Regions from separate parts of the Homo sapiens genome. Here regions 1 and 3 are each linked to region 2. Evidence: promoter capture Hi-C in 16 types of primary human blood cells and fetal thymus (Javierre and others, 2016). All regions are on one chromosome and are shown on one strand. Each heading gives the region's core, a stretch centred on a gene start or on the middle of the fragment in contact. The rest is flanking DNA. Distances are from core to core; before and after follow the strand shown.

What was found. The method cuts DNA at HindIII sites, captures the fragments that hold promoters and counts their contacts. A CHiCAGO score of 5 or more calls a contact.
Region 1: the fragment with the promoter of OOSP2 here is called in contact with the fragment with the promoter of MS4A4E in region 2 in 3 of 17 cell types (erythroblasts, naive CD8 T cells and fetal thymus); the score reaches 9.0 in erythroblasts.
Region 3: a contact is called between the fragment with the promoter of MS4A3 here and the fragment with the promoter of MS4A4E in region 2, in 2 of 17 cell types (neutrophils and total B cells). The highest score is 8.0, in neutrophils.

What each region holds. Positions count from the first base shown.
Region 1 is chr11:60,038,000-60,041,936 of GRCh38, reverse strand. It overlaps OOSP2 (oocyte secreted protein 2), which reads right to left and starts at 1,528. Exons shown (of 4, transcript NM_173801.5): 1 at 1,414-1,528. The coding sequence starts at 1,477. The HindIII fragment of the contact is 6,208 bases long and covers 1-3,813 here.
Region 2 is chr11:60,240,955-60,244,727 of GRCh38, reverse strand. MS4A4E (membrane spanning 4-domains A4E) reads left to right here and starts at 1,591. Exons shown (of 9, transcript NM_001393391.1): 1 at 1,591-1,770. The HindIII fragment of the contact is 3,157 bases long and covers 1-2,412 here.
Region 3 is chr11:60,055,348-60,058,953 of GRCh38, reverse strand. It overlaps MS4A3 (membrane spanning 4-domains A3), which reads right to left and starts at 2,289. Exons shown (of 7, transcript NM_006138.5): 1 at 2,214-2,289. The HindIII fragment of the contact is 11,991 bases long and covers 376-3,606 here.

The DNA of each region.
Region 1 (3,937 bases), core at 279-2,778, 200 kb after region 2:
CCAAAGTGCTGGGATTACAGGCGTGAGCCACCGTGTACCCAGCCTGTTTTTCAGACGGAGTTTTGCTTTTTTTTTTTTTTTTTTTTGAGACAGAGTCTCGCTCTGTCACCCAGGCTGGAGTGCAGTGGTGTGATCTCAGCTCACTGCAAGCTCCGCCTCCCGGGTTCAAGTGATTCTCCTGCCTGAGCCTCCCGTGTAGCTGGGATTACAGGCGCCCACCACTACACAAGGCTACTTTTTGTATTTTTAGTAGAGACGAGGTTTCACCATGTTGGCCAAGCTGGTCTCGAACTCCTCCTGACCTCTGGTGATCCACCCGTCTCGGCTTCCCAAAGTGCTGGGATTACAGGTATCAGCCACCGTGCCCAGCCAGAAACTCAGTTTTAGTCTGACGTTCTATCAAATAGCTGAGAAAAGCCTGAGAAACACACATAGATACTTTCACTGCAGCAGAATCTTCCTTTGCTCAGGCTTCCTGAAAGACAGTTAGGGCCTAAACACCCTACCCACCCTAAATAGCCAGAATTCACAGTGGCTCTTTCTCTCCATGTGCTGTTCATTTCAATAATTAACTGTTAACTGTTACCTGGTGAGCTTCACTGATCTAGGCATTCTTAAAATTCATCTTAGGTAAAATGGAAAAATATCAGGAGCTATATGTGATCTTTGCTTCCAAAGGTATTACAGGCCAAATGGGTAAGAAATTGACGTATCAGTTTCAAAGAAAAACCCCCTTTCAAATTACCAAAAAAAGTCTACAAAAAGAAACCATAAAGAACATAAAAAGTAATATTGAAATGCTACTTTACAGATTACATTTAGTCAGGCCTTGGAGCTGGCAAGCATTTGGATTCCAGGCAAAACAGAAAAGATACATTGGAATCAACTTGTAGACAGCAACGCGCTGACTTAGCTTTCTCCTATTAACTTTGCAGAACCGTTGATGAGTTTAACATGGGTGAAGTTCAGAGCAGTCTTTTTAAGGGAACAAAACAGCAATAATATCAGCATTAAGCAAAAATATGAGTCTGGAAGCAGGAAGATCAGCTAAGATGCAACTGAATATCTTACAATGTGATACAATCAAGCACCAGTAATTGGCAGGGGTTTGAAATGTTAGACTGAAAGAGAGCCAAGGACTATTCCTGAAGAACCTCTGAAAATGAGTCTCAAGTTAGAGAGAAGACCAAAACAGAGAGAGAGAGAAATAAAAGCCTGAGAACTGGGACATTTAGGCAGAAAGAGAAAATGTATCCTCCGTATATTGACACAAGTCTACTTGGCCTGAAAGCGCTTCTTCTTCTAGCCAGTTAGAATAAGATCAGATTTCTTCAGGGAGTAAAACACCTGCATGGAAAGCGATCATTATGATTAACTCCTTCGAGGAAGCATTCTCTAAAACTTGTTATTTACCATGGAGGTTCTCAGCACCGGTCCAAATCAAGACAGCGAGGAGCATCAAGACTTCTAACGCCATGGAGACCTTCGTCTGAGCAGACCTCCAGCACAGGACAACTCAGGAAACAAGGAGTGGCGACTGGTTTAAGTGATTTTTATATGGCATCCCATGCTCAGCTGCGTTCGTTTTCCTCCTTATTTGGGTAGTTCACAGGATGCTCTTATCACAGTGTCAGCTACCTAAAGGCTGAGACTCTCTTGATTATCCAAACACTGAAGCTCAAAGAGACATATCAAGAAAAAAGTGTTATTTGATAACAGTCTTTACAAGTCCTGTTACAAACATCAGGAGGATGGCATGGCACACAATGCTTCCAGTAAATACTAAATTACAGGAAACTGTTCTTACTAGCTAACGTTCAGGTGTTTTAAGTTTCCATCTAATATGAGAACAGCCTAGATCTTTCATACTTGAAATCAAAAGACTATTATTTCTTCATTTCTATGGGTTTGGCTGGAAGAAGCAAAGCAGACATGATAAACTGACTTGACCAGGAACATAAATCTCTAGGAGGGGACAGGCACCCAAAGGAAAGTCAAGTCTATTGGTATTAGGAAAGTTGACAATTCCCTCTCTGTTGATTCTTTCTAAATTAAGGTGTTGGTAACTTTAGTCATTTCAAACCTGAGACAAGAGAATATTTTATATGCATATATATACACATAACTGTATATGTATAATAATTTATATTTATGATTTTTTCAATACTGAAGTAGAATAAAAGTTCCAGCCAAAGATTTTTATTGTATTTTTTTAAAATGTTAGTCACGGCCTGAATGTGACTGCGTGGTTTTAAGGGTAATTGAAAATCAAAGGCTAACAGTAAATAAAATTCAAAGAGGCTGAATTAAATGCCTATTATTGCTTTTAGTCATATCTGAATTATATTTTCAATGTTACAGTCTGCTGTCAAATGACTACATGCACAGAGCTTCCCTATGCATTTAAGAAGGACTTCTATTTCTGACATTACATTCTCTTGTGGACAGTGAGATCCCCAAAGCTGTGACCCACACAGTGCTCTGCATCAGGAAAGCCTGGAGAATCCAGTCGCCCAACCACCAATGGGGAAAGAGTATTAGAGAAAGAGAAGGGCAAGTCTACATGTTATTTTTTCATCTTTCATTTCTTTAAACATTTTTCTGATGTTAAGAACATTTTCAGGATCTAAAATTTATTAACTTCATATGCAGCTTTTAAATCTTGCCTATGTAAACATCTAATATTGTTCCAAAAGGAATCATTGGCCAGTTTCTTGTATTTCAGTTTGAGAAAGTTAAACAAGCTAAGGCTGCTGTTCATACGCTGTAAAAAGGAGATATATTCTCTCTAAACTTATTGTGAATAAGACATAGCAAATGTAAACTGTCTTGCTCAAGTCAATAGCGTACAAAAAATATCTAATATATGACTATTTCCTGTATCTTGAAGCACAGTTAGTAACAGGACTTTATGCAATGTTTCAAGGATTACTCAAAGCCGCAGAATGAACAAAGTTCATTTTCCAAAAATTCCAATTTTAATACAGAATTTTACTGTGAAACAGTAATGGAATTTAAATATAACTTTAATGTAAAATGGAGATAAAGCAGAGATAAAACAAATATTTTAAAACAATTTATAACTTAGGGAAATGTTGCAACTATAGTACAAAAAAACTTTCTTTTTCCTGGACCTTTTGAGAGCAGGTTGCTGGTAAGATGTTCCCTTGACTGTAAATATTTTGAAGTATATATCCAACAAATAAGGCCATTCTTCTACTAGAGTGCTTCTCAATAATTGGAACTTAGATGATGGAGGGGTCCATGGGATCAGATCTATTTTCACAATAACACATTTTCTTTTTCATAATGTCGACATTTGCACAGGTGTGCAAAAACAGTGGTGGGAAATGCTCCTGCCTCTTGAGCACCAATCAAGGTAGTAGCATAAGAATGTGTTAGTTTGTTAGTCACCATTGTATTCTTCACCCCTGTGCACTCACAGTAAAGGGAAAAAGCCAGTTTCACTTAAGTCTTGAAGCAGTAAAAAGTATCTGTTTTATTAAATGCCAACCGTTGAATGCATGCCTTTTTACTATTCAGAGTGATAAAATAGAAAGTATGCATAATACACTTTTGCTGCGTATCAAAGTATGAAGAGTGTCTCAAGGAAAATCTGTGCAGTTATTGGAGCTGTGAGCTGAACTAGCCACTTGTTACATAGAACACCATCTTTACTTAAAGAATGACTATCAGACAAACAATGATTATTCGCCCGTGGGTATTCGACATTTTTTGAAATTGAATGATGTAAACTTGTCACTTCAAAGAAAACAACTAACAACAATTAAACTCAGTGATAAAATTCAAGCTTAAAGGAAAAATTAGCATTTTGAAAAAGTTGTATTCTCTACTATGAGCTTGGAAGCTCACTGGTGATATCTTAACTATGATTTCTTGTATTGCATAATAAAATATCATCACTTAAAACATCTGC
Region 2 (3,773 bases), core at 342-2,841:
CATGTTCTCATTCCCTAGCTCCTGCCAGTTATCCAACTTTTGTGAACCTTATTTGAAGGTGCCCACACAATTCAAATTAAATATGCTCCAAGTCTTACTCTTTGTTCCTGCAGTTCTGTCTTGGTCCATGTCTATTGCCTTACTGAATGGCTCTATCATTCATTCAGTTTCCTAACCCAGAATCTGAGCGCCATCCTTTCCTGTTTTCTCTCCTGATTTACACATCCATTATATCAACAAGTACTGTCATTTCTCGTTCCTAAACATCTTTCAAATCCATTCATTCTCTCCAACTTCACTAGCATCATAGGTAGTTCAGTAACCATCATCCCTTCCCTAGAGAACTGCCTCTTTCTTAACCCTAACTCCCTGATTTCAGTATTATTTATTCCTATTGTTGCTTTACATGAAAACCAGGACAATATTTCTGAAATATAACCCATTTAATTCTGAGAATTAAAATAATTTCAGATTATAGACAACAAAGTTTTTGGGATTAGGCAAAACTGGATTTCAATCTCATCTATACCAGCTATATGAATATCTCTGAGTTTCAGTTCCATCTTCTGGAAAATGGGAATAATAATGTTACCTAGCTCCATCCTTCTTCCATTTGTGTGTCTTTTGCTTATTCATCAGGTCTCCAATTAGATGTCCCTTTATCTAGGAAGTCTCCTCTGCCTACCTACCCAACGTTGAGTTCTTTGATCCTCCTATGAGCTCTCTCAGGATATCCAATTTTACCTTGCAGATCACTGATTATAATGGGTTGTAATGATTTATTTATTCATCAGCATTGCCACTTTACCTTGCAGGTAACTGATTATAATGGGTGATTTATTTACTTGTCTATATTGTCAAGTAGCCTATAAAATCCTTGAGCGAAAATCATTTTTCACCATTTTATCTGAAGCACATGGCACACTGCTTGGCTTATAGTAGCTTTTCTCTAAGAAAATGCTGAGTGAATGAAAATTGCATGCCACTTTGCTTTCCTCCATGTAAAGAAGGCATTATTTTATTTTACCAATGAATCAGGTTCAGGGGATTAACAAGGTCATACAAGAAATGATTGCCATTGGGTTTGTCTTAGTCAAAGACCAGCTTGTTCTATGATACCAGCTGCTTCTTTGACTTAGAAAGGTGTTGTATTAATTATTGCTGTACAACCAACTTGTTCCCATTTTGTGGCTATTCATGTTGAACCTCCAAAGGTGAAATATCATGAAAATAAGATATTTAAGTTGTGTATATTAAGGCACAATTACTTTTTCACCAACCTAATACAATAGTAACAGTAGTTCTCTGGGAAGAAGAGTACTGTGGAAATGTGTGAAATTGTGAAAGGGGGCATTTATAAATTACCATTTACTTAGTTGTGTATATAACAATCTTTGAGCAGAGTCTGGCAAACAGAAAATCCTCCACCACTGATACCCACAGTAATTAGCACTATTATTTTCATAGGAAAGACTGTATCAGGCAGCCACTGCTTTTTCAGCAAATTTCAAAATAAACGTCCACACCCATATTGGGAACGCAAAATCAGTTAATGCTTCCGATAAAAAAGAGGAACTAGTTGTGTGTCTCAGAAGTTCTCAACACATCCTTTAAGGTTCCAAACATCTACTAGAAAAGGAGTGCAGATTTAAACTGAGTGAGGTGTGGAGTGGGGGAAGCTGACTGTGTCTGGAACAAAGAACTTTGAGGAACTTGCCCAGAGCCCTGCACTCATCAGACCTGCAGCAGACATTGCAGGCCTGAAGAAAGGTAGGTCCAGGGACTTGCCTTCCTAGGCTCTCGGACTGATAGTTTGTTTCATTTCCTGGGTTTAGGATTTCTGGGAGTGGAGTGAGAAAAAAAAATGAGGTCACTTCCCATGACCCAAGCTGGTAGTCAGGGTTGGGGTGGATTGAGTGCACATTTAAATATGCATTTGGTGAGGGTTGTGGGTGGTTGAGGAACAGTCTTCGCTACAGTTGATGGGAGTTAGAAAAGCCTCCTAAAGGCTGACACTGGAGGCTGGATGAAGTTGTTTTAGTTACTTTTGTTCCGTAAGTTCTCAGGATACCAAAACACTGTAAGCAACATTTTAAACTTTGATTAATTACCTCATCTACTGTTAATGCACTTCTTCCATGGTCTTTATTCTTTGTCTCTGACTGGTTATTTTTATAATTCAAGACTTAAGAAAAGATCTAGCACGTGCAGAATTTGGTGTACATGGAGTAGGGCACAGGCAGGGTCCCCAGCCTTGTACATTTAGATGGGCTGTGGCCTGACGTAGTTCTCCAGTGGTCTTTGGCACTATTCATGTGGCACCCAGGCAGTAAACTGAGGCTGCTCATGATAAAATCTGCAAATGAAAAACATCTTGTAGACTTTTAGCATTCTTAGGATAAGAAAGAAGCTTGTAAGTAGTCGTAGTCATTGTAATCTTTCCCCAGATGAAGTAAATGAAATCCAGAAAAGGGAAATAATGTACCTAGAATCACACAAGTTAACAAAAGGGCTAGGAGCAAAAAACCCAGAATTCTTGGTTCCTAGCCCAGGCCTTTCCCCCTTTTCCCTTCCCATGCCACCATTTCTGCATCCCCATCATCCTCCTAAAAACCATCCAGATTCAGGCCTCATTTTGGGTTTCTAGTCTATTTGATAACTCTGCCAAGAAAAAGGGGATGACCGTGTATACCACTCTCCTCATGCTCTCTTGTGTTGTGACCCATAAGGGGGATGGTGACATAAAAATGAGGAAACAAGAGACTGCTGGTGCTGCTGATCCACAAGGAGACTGGGGCCAATAGAAGAGGGAAGGGTGGTCTAGGTTACCCCACCTCTTTATCCGGGGTGGGGAGGAGGGGCGGGGAAGACATTGTAGTTGTCAAGAACCTGATGCATATAGGTGATGTGGCAAAACCAAGGTTTAGATTCTTCTCCAACCTGAAAGAAATGTCCCTCCCTCATATGTATCCAATATTCTCTGCAGTTAAAAAATATATATTTTGATTGTAGAGAAGTGGAGTCTTGTAAACACACGCTTTCTTTCCTTGGGGACCTTATCTACCCTAGATAATTAACACATGGATTTCTGTGGTGTAAAGATAGGAGGCAGTTATATAAATTTATGTCAAGAATGTCTTATAAAGACAGAGCACCAGCCTTGAATGACCAGAACCTGACCTATGTTACCAAAGAATTATGGAAAATCATAAGAGTCAATTATAAGCCTTAATTTGATATAATGGCTCGGCCCTCAGGAAGCTTACAGCCTTACCCGAGAGGCACTAAACACAGAGGGAGAACTACCAAGTGTGTTTGATAAGACAGACCCAACATGTCCTAAATTCTCAGTCTGAAGGTGTGCGTGAGAGATTGAGGCCGAGTTTCCCTTACATTAAAGAATAGGCCGGGTGCGGTGGCTCACGCCTGTAATTCCAGCACTTTGGGAGGCCCAGGTGGGTGGATCACGAGGTCAGAGGATCGAGACCATCCTGGCTAACACGGTGAAATCCCTTCTCTACTAAAAATACAAAAAAATTAGCCAGGCGTGGTGGCAGGCGCCGGTAGCCCCAGCTACTCTGGAGGCTGAGGCAGGAGAATGGCGTGAACCCGGGAGGCGGAGCTTGCAGTGAGCCGAGATTGCACCACTGCACGCCAGCCTGGGCAACAGAGCGAGACTCCGCCTCAAAATAAATAAATAAGTAAATAAATAAATAAATAAATAAATAAAAAGTACACATTTAGATGGACTAAGAAGAATTATCTTCAGTTTC
Region 3 (3,606 bases), core at 1,040-3,539, 190 kb after region 2:
ACCCAAGAGCGAGGGAAGATCAATAAAGCTTAAAGCAAACTCTATGTGAATAAGTTCCTAACGTAATTATCTGCAAAAAGTATAAATAAGAATAGCCAAAAAGCCAAGACTTCAAATTTATCCACTGGGAAATTTGTGTGTATTTTGGATTAAATATCTAATGAACTAAGATGCATGCAATACGGAGAATGTTGCTGCTTTATGACCAGATAATCTCTCGCCTACGTCTCCTGCCTCACCCCTCACCCATCCCTATCTCAAAACTCCATCCAGCCTTATTTTCTTGATTTGTCTTCCTTCAGAAGTTCTAAACCCTCAAATGTCTTCAATCCTCTGTGCTATCCCCCATTCCTGAAAGACAAGTCCCCTCAAGCTTCACCTGGATAATTTCTGCTCTCCTTCCAGACTGAATTTTTTTTTTTTTTTTTTTTTTTTTTTTTTTTTTTTGAGTTGGAGCTTTGCTCTGTCTCCCAGGCTGGAGTGCAGAGGCCCGATCTCAGCTCACTGCAACCTCCGCCTCCTGGGCTCAAGCTATGATCCTGCCTCAGCCTCCCAAGTAGCTGGGATTACAGGCGTGCACCACCACACCCAGCTAATTTTTGTACTTTTAGTAGAGATGGGGTTTTACCATGTTGGCCAGGCTGGTCTCGAACTCTTGACCTAGGTGATCCACCCACCTCAGCCTCCCAAAGTGCTGGGATTACAGGCGTGAATCAATGCGCCCGGCCCTTCCAGACTGATTTTCAGCCCACATGTCATACTTCCAGGATGCTGTTTTTAGTCCTGGCCAACTCTGGAAGAAGCATGCACCCCTTTGGGTTGCTCTCAAAATTTCCTCAACTTTCCTTCTCATACCACTTAATCAGCCTGAGCTTTAATTGCCTGGATACTTGTCTGTTACCTCGTTGTCTACTCATCACTGCAACTCCAGTGCCTAGCTCAGAATCATCAGATGGCAAGCACTCAGTTAACACACATGTTCAATCAGTAACCAGACTTTTGGTCCAGCCCAAGGTAGCCATCCTGATAAATGATGATGGAAAATACCTCTGCAAGCACTGGAGCCTCTCATCTCAAGAAACTCCAAGAGCATTTCTGAAGAGAGCAAATATCTAACCATATTATTTAACTTGATTTGTTTCAAATAATCAAAATAATCAGGGAGAATTTTCAGCCTCCAGGTGAAACAAACTATGTTTTCTAAAATTTGGTTAAATCAGTTATTTATTTTTAAAAAAATCAGAGAAATGGTCCGGGTGCAGTGGCTCATGCCTGTAATCCCAGCACTTTGGGAGGCAGAGGCGGGAGGATCTCAAGGTCAGGAGATTGAGATCATCCTTGCTAACATGGTGAAACCCTGTTTCTACTAAAAACACATAAAATTAGCTGGTTGTGACAGCACGCGCCTGTAATCCCAGCTACTCAGGAGGCTGAGGCAGGAGAATTGTTTGAACCCATGAGGCGGAGTTTGCAGTGAGCCGAAATCGTGCCATTGCACTCCAGCCTGGGTGACAGAGCGAGACTCTGTCTCTCTCTCACACACACACACACACACACAAAATCAGAGAAATGTAGATTTTCTAGGAAACTGCCAGTTAAGTTCATCTCTCCAGCTCTTAGTATGTGGCAGGCATTTGTTCTAAGGGCTTTATCCATGTTTACTAATTTAGTTCTCACAACATCAGATGAATGGGTACTACTGCTATGATCCTTTCCATCTAACAGATGAAGAAGCTGAGGAACAAAGAAGTTAAGTAGCTTTCCCAAGCCCACACAGCCAGCAATTTGAGAAGCTAAAAATCAGAACCTCAAGCTATCATTACACTCCACTGTCCCCTGAGCTATGCTAAAATGCACTTTGCAGACCCCATACTTCAGGCATATCGAGACCACCCCTCATCATCAGAGCTGGCAGACAAACTCAGGTGCAGCCAGTGGGATTTAATGTACCTAAGAGGTGCGTGTGCATGTGTGTGTATCCATACCCACATTTTCCCAAAGAAATTGCTGTATTATTATGTCTAACACTTTTTATCATGGCTCCAAAGGAATCATCACATCCTAAAGAGAAGCCATGTTCACAGTTAAATGTTCCAAACCTCTACATAGCAACCAAACAGAGACCTTTGCAGACATCCCCAGTAGTCCACTGGGAGGCATTTTAACGAAAGATATAAAAGAAAGGGGAATGTCTATGGAGAGGGAATCTATACCTTGGAGGCTTCAGGCTTTGGCAGACGGCTTTCCTCCCAAGTCCACCTTGTCGCAAGTAGGAGACACTCAGAAAAGATCACTACAGCATCTTTTCCCGATAACGGAAGCCTCCACAGACTTAACGTTATCTTTGCCTTATGCAACACTTTAGAGGACTTGGTGAAAGTGTTTTGCGGGCTGACTGACCAGTGTGCTAATCACATCTGCATTTGGGGCCTCGCTGATCCATTGTGTTTCCCCAGGGCTTAGTGATGATTAGGAAACTGGTGTGAGGGATAACTGTCTTCTGGCTTTCAGATGTTGCTTAACACATTGCTGGAACAGGAAACACAAGCAACAATATGGGTAGACAAGTGGGAAGAGGTTGTGGGTTGGAGGTAGAACAGTGTTAGGTGCATAGCAAGAAGAGACAAAGTCACACTGTAAGAGAAGCATCTGGAGGAGGGAGGTGGTCACTCAGGCACTTATTTTACATGATGTGCCAGCAACGGTGCTATGTACCTTATATGCGTGATGACATTCAATTCTTACATGCTTAGAGAGGTTAATTACTTTGCCCAATATCACAGATATAATAATAATGCTAATTATTGTTTAAATGTATTAAATGGTTACTACATACAGGTCATTGTTCTGAATGCTTTACATATGTTAATTCATCTCATCCTCACAATAACCCAGGACCCAGGTACTACTATTAACCCGATGTTATGGTAGAGAAAACTATGGTATAGAAATGTTACCCAGCTTTCCTAAAATTTAACTGGAAAAGCCCTGTGCAAAATCTCTGTTTTGTACAATGGTGAAGCCCGAAGTGTGCCTGTTATCCTAATATGATTGTTAAAACCCCTCCTTTCAGTTTCTTTTTTGTTTTTTGGTTTTTTTAGGTTTTTTGTATTTGTTTGTTTGTTTCGTTTGTTTATTGAGATGGCGTCTCACTCTGTCATCCAGGCTGGAATGCAATGGTGCAATCTTGGCTTACTGCAACCTCCGCCTCCCGGGTTCAAGCAATTCTCCTGTTCCAGCCTCCTGAATAGCTGCAACTACAGGCATGCACCACCACTCCCAGCTAATTTTTGTATTTTTAGTAGAGACAGGGTTTCACCGTATTGGTCATGCTGGTCTCGAACTCCTGACCTCCGGTGATTCACCTGCCTCAGCCTCCCAAAGTGCTGGGATTACAGGCATGAGCCATCGCGCCCGGCCTCCTTTCAGTTTCAAAAGTGGCCAAATTATATGCTTATCCTAAATAAATGTCCTAAAATAGGCAATAGAAAGATCAGAGCCAAGTGACAAGGAGTAAGGAAGTAGGTAACGTGAAGATTCAAACCACAATCCTTATGAAGGTCACAGGGCCAGGCCTGAGAGAAAGAATGAGGGCACAGCCCCTGA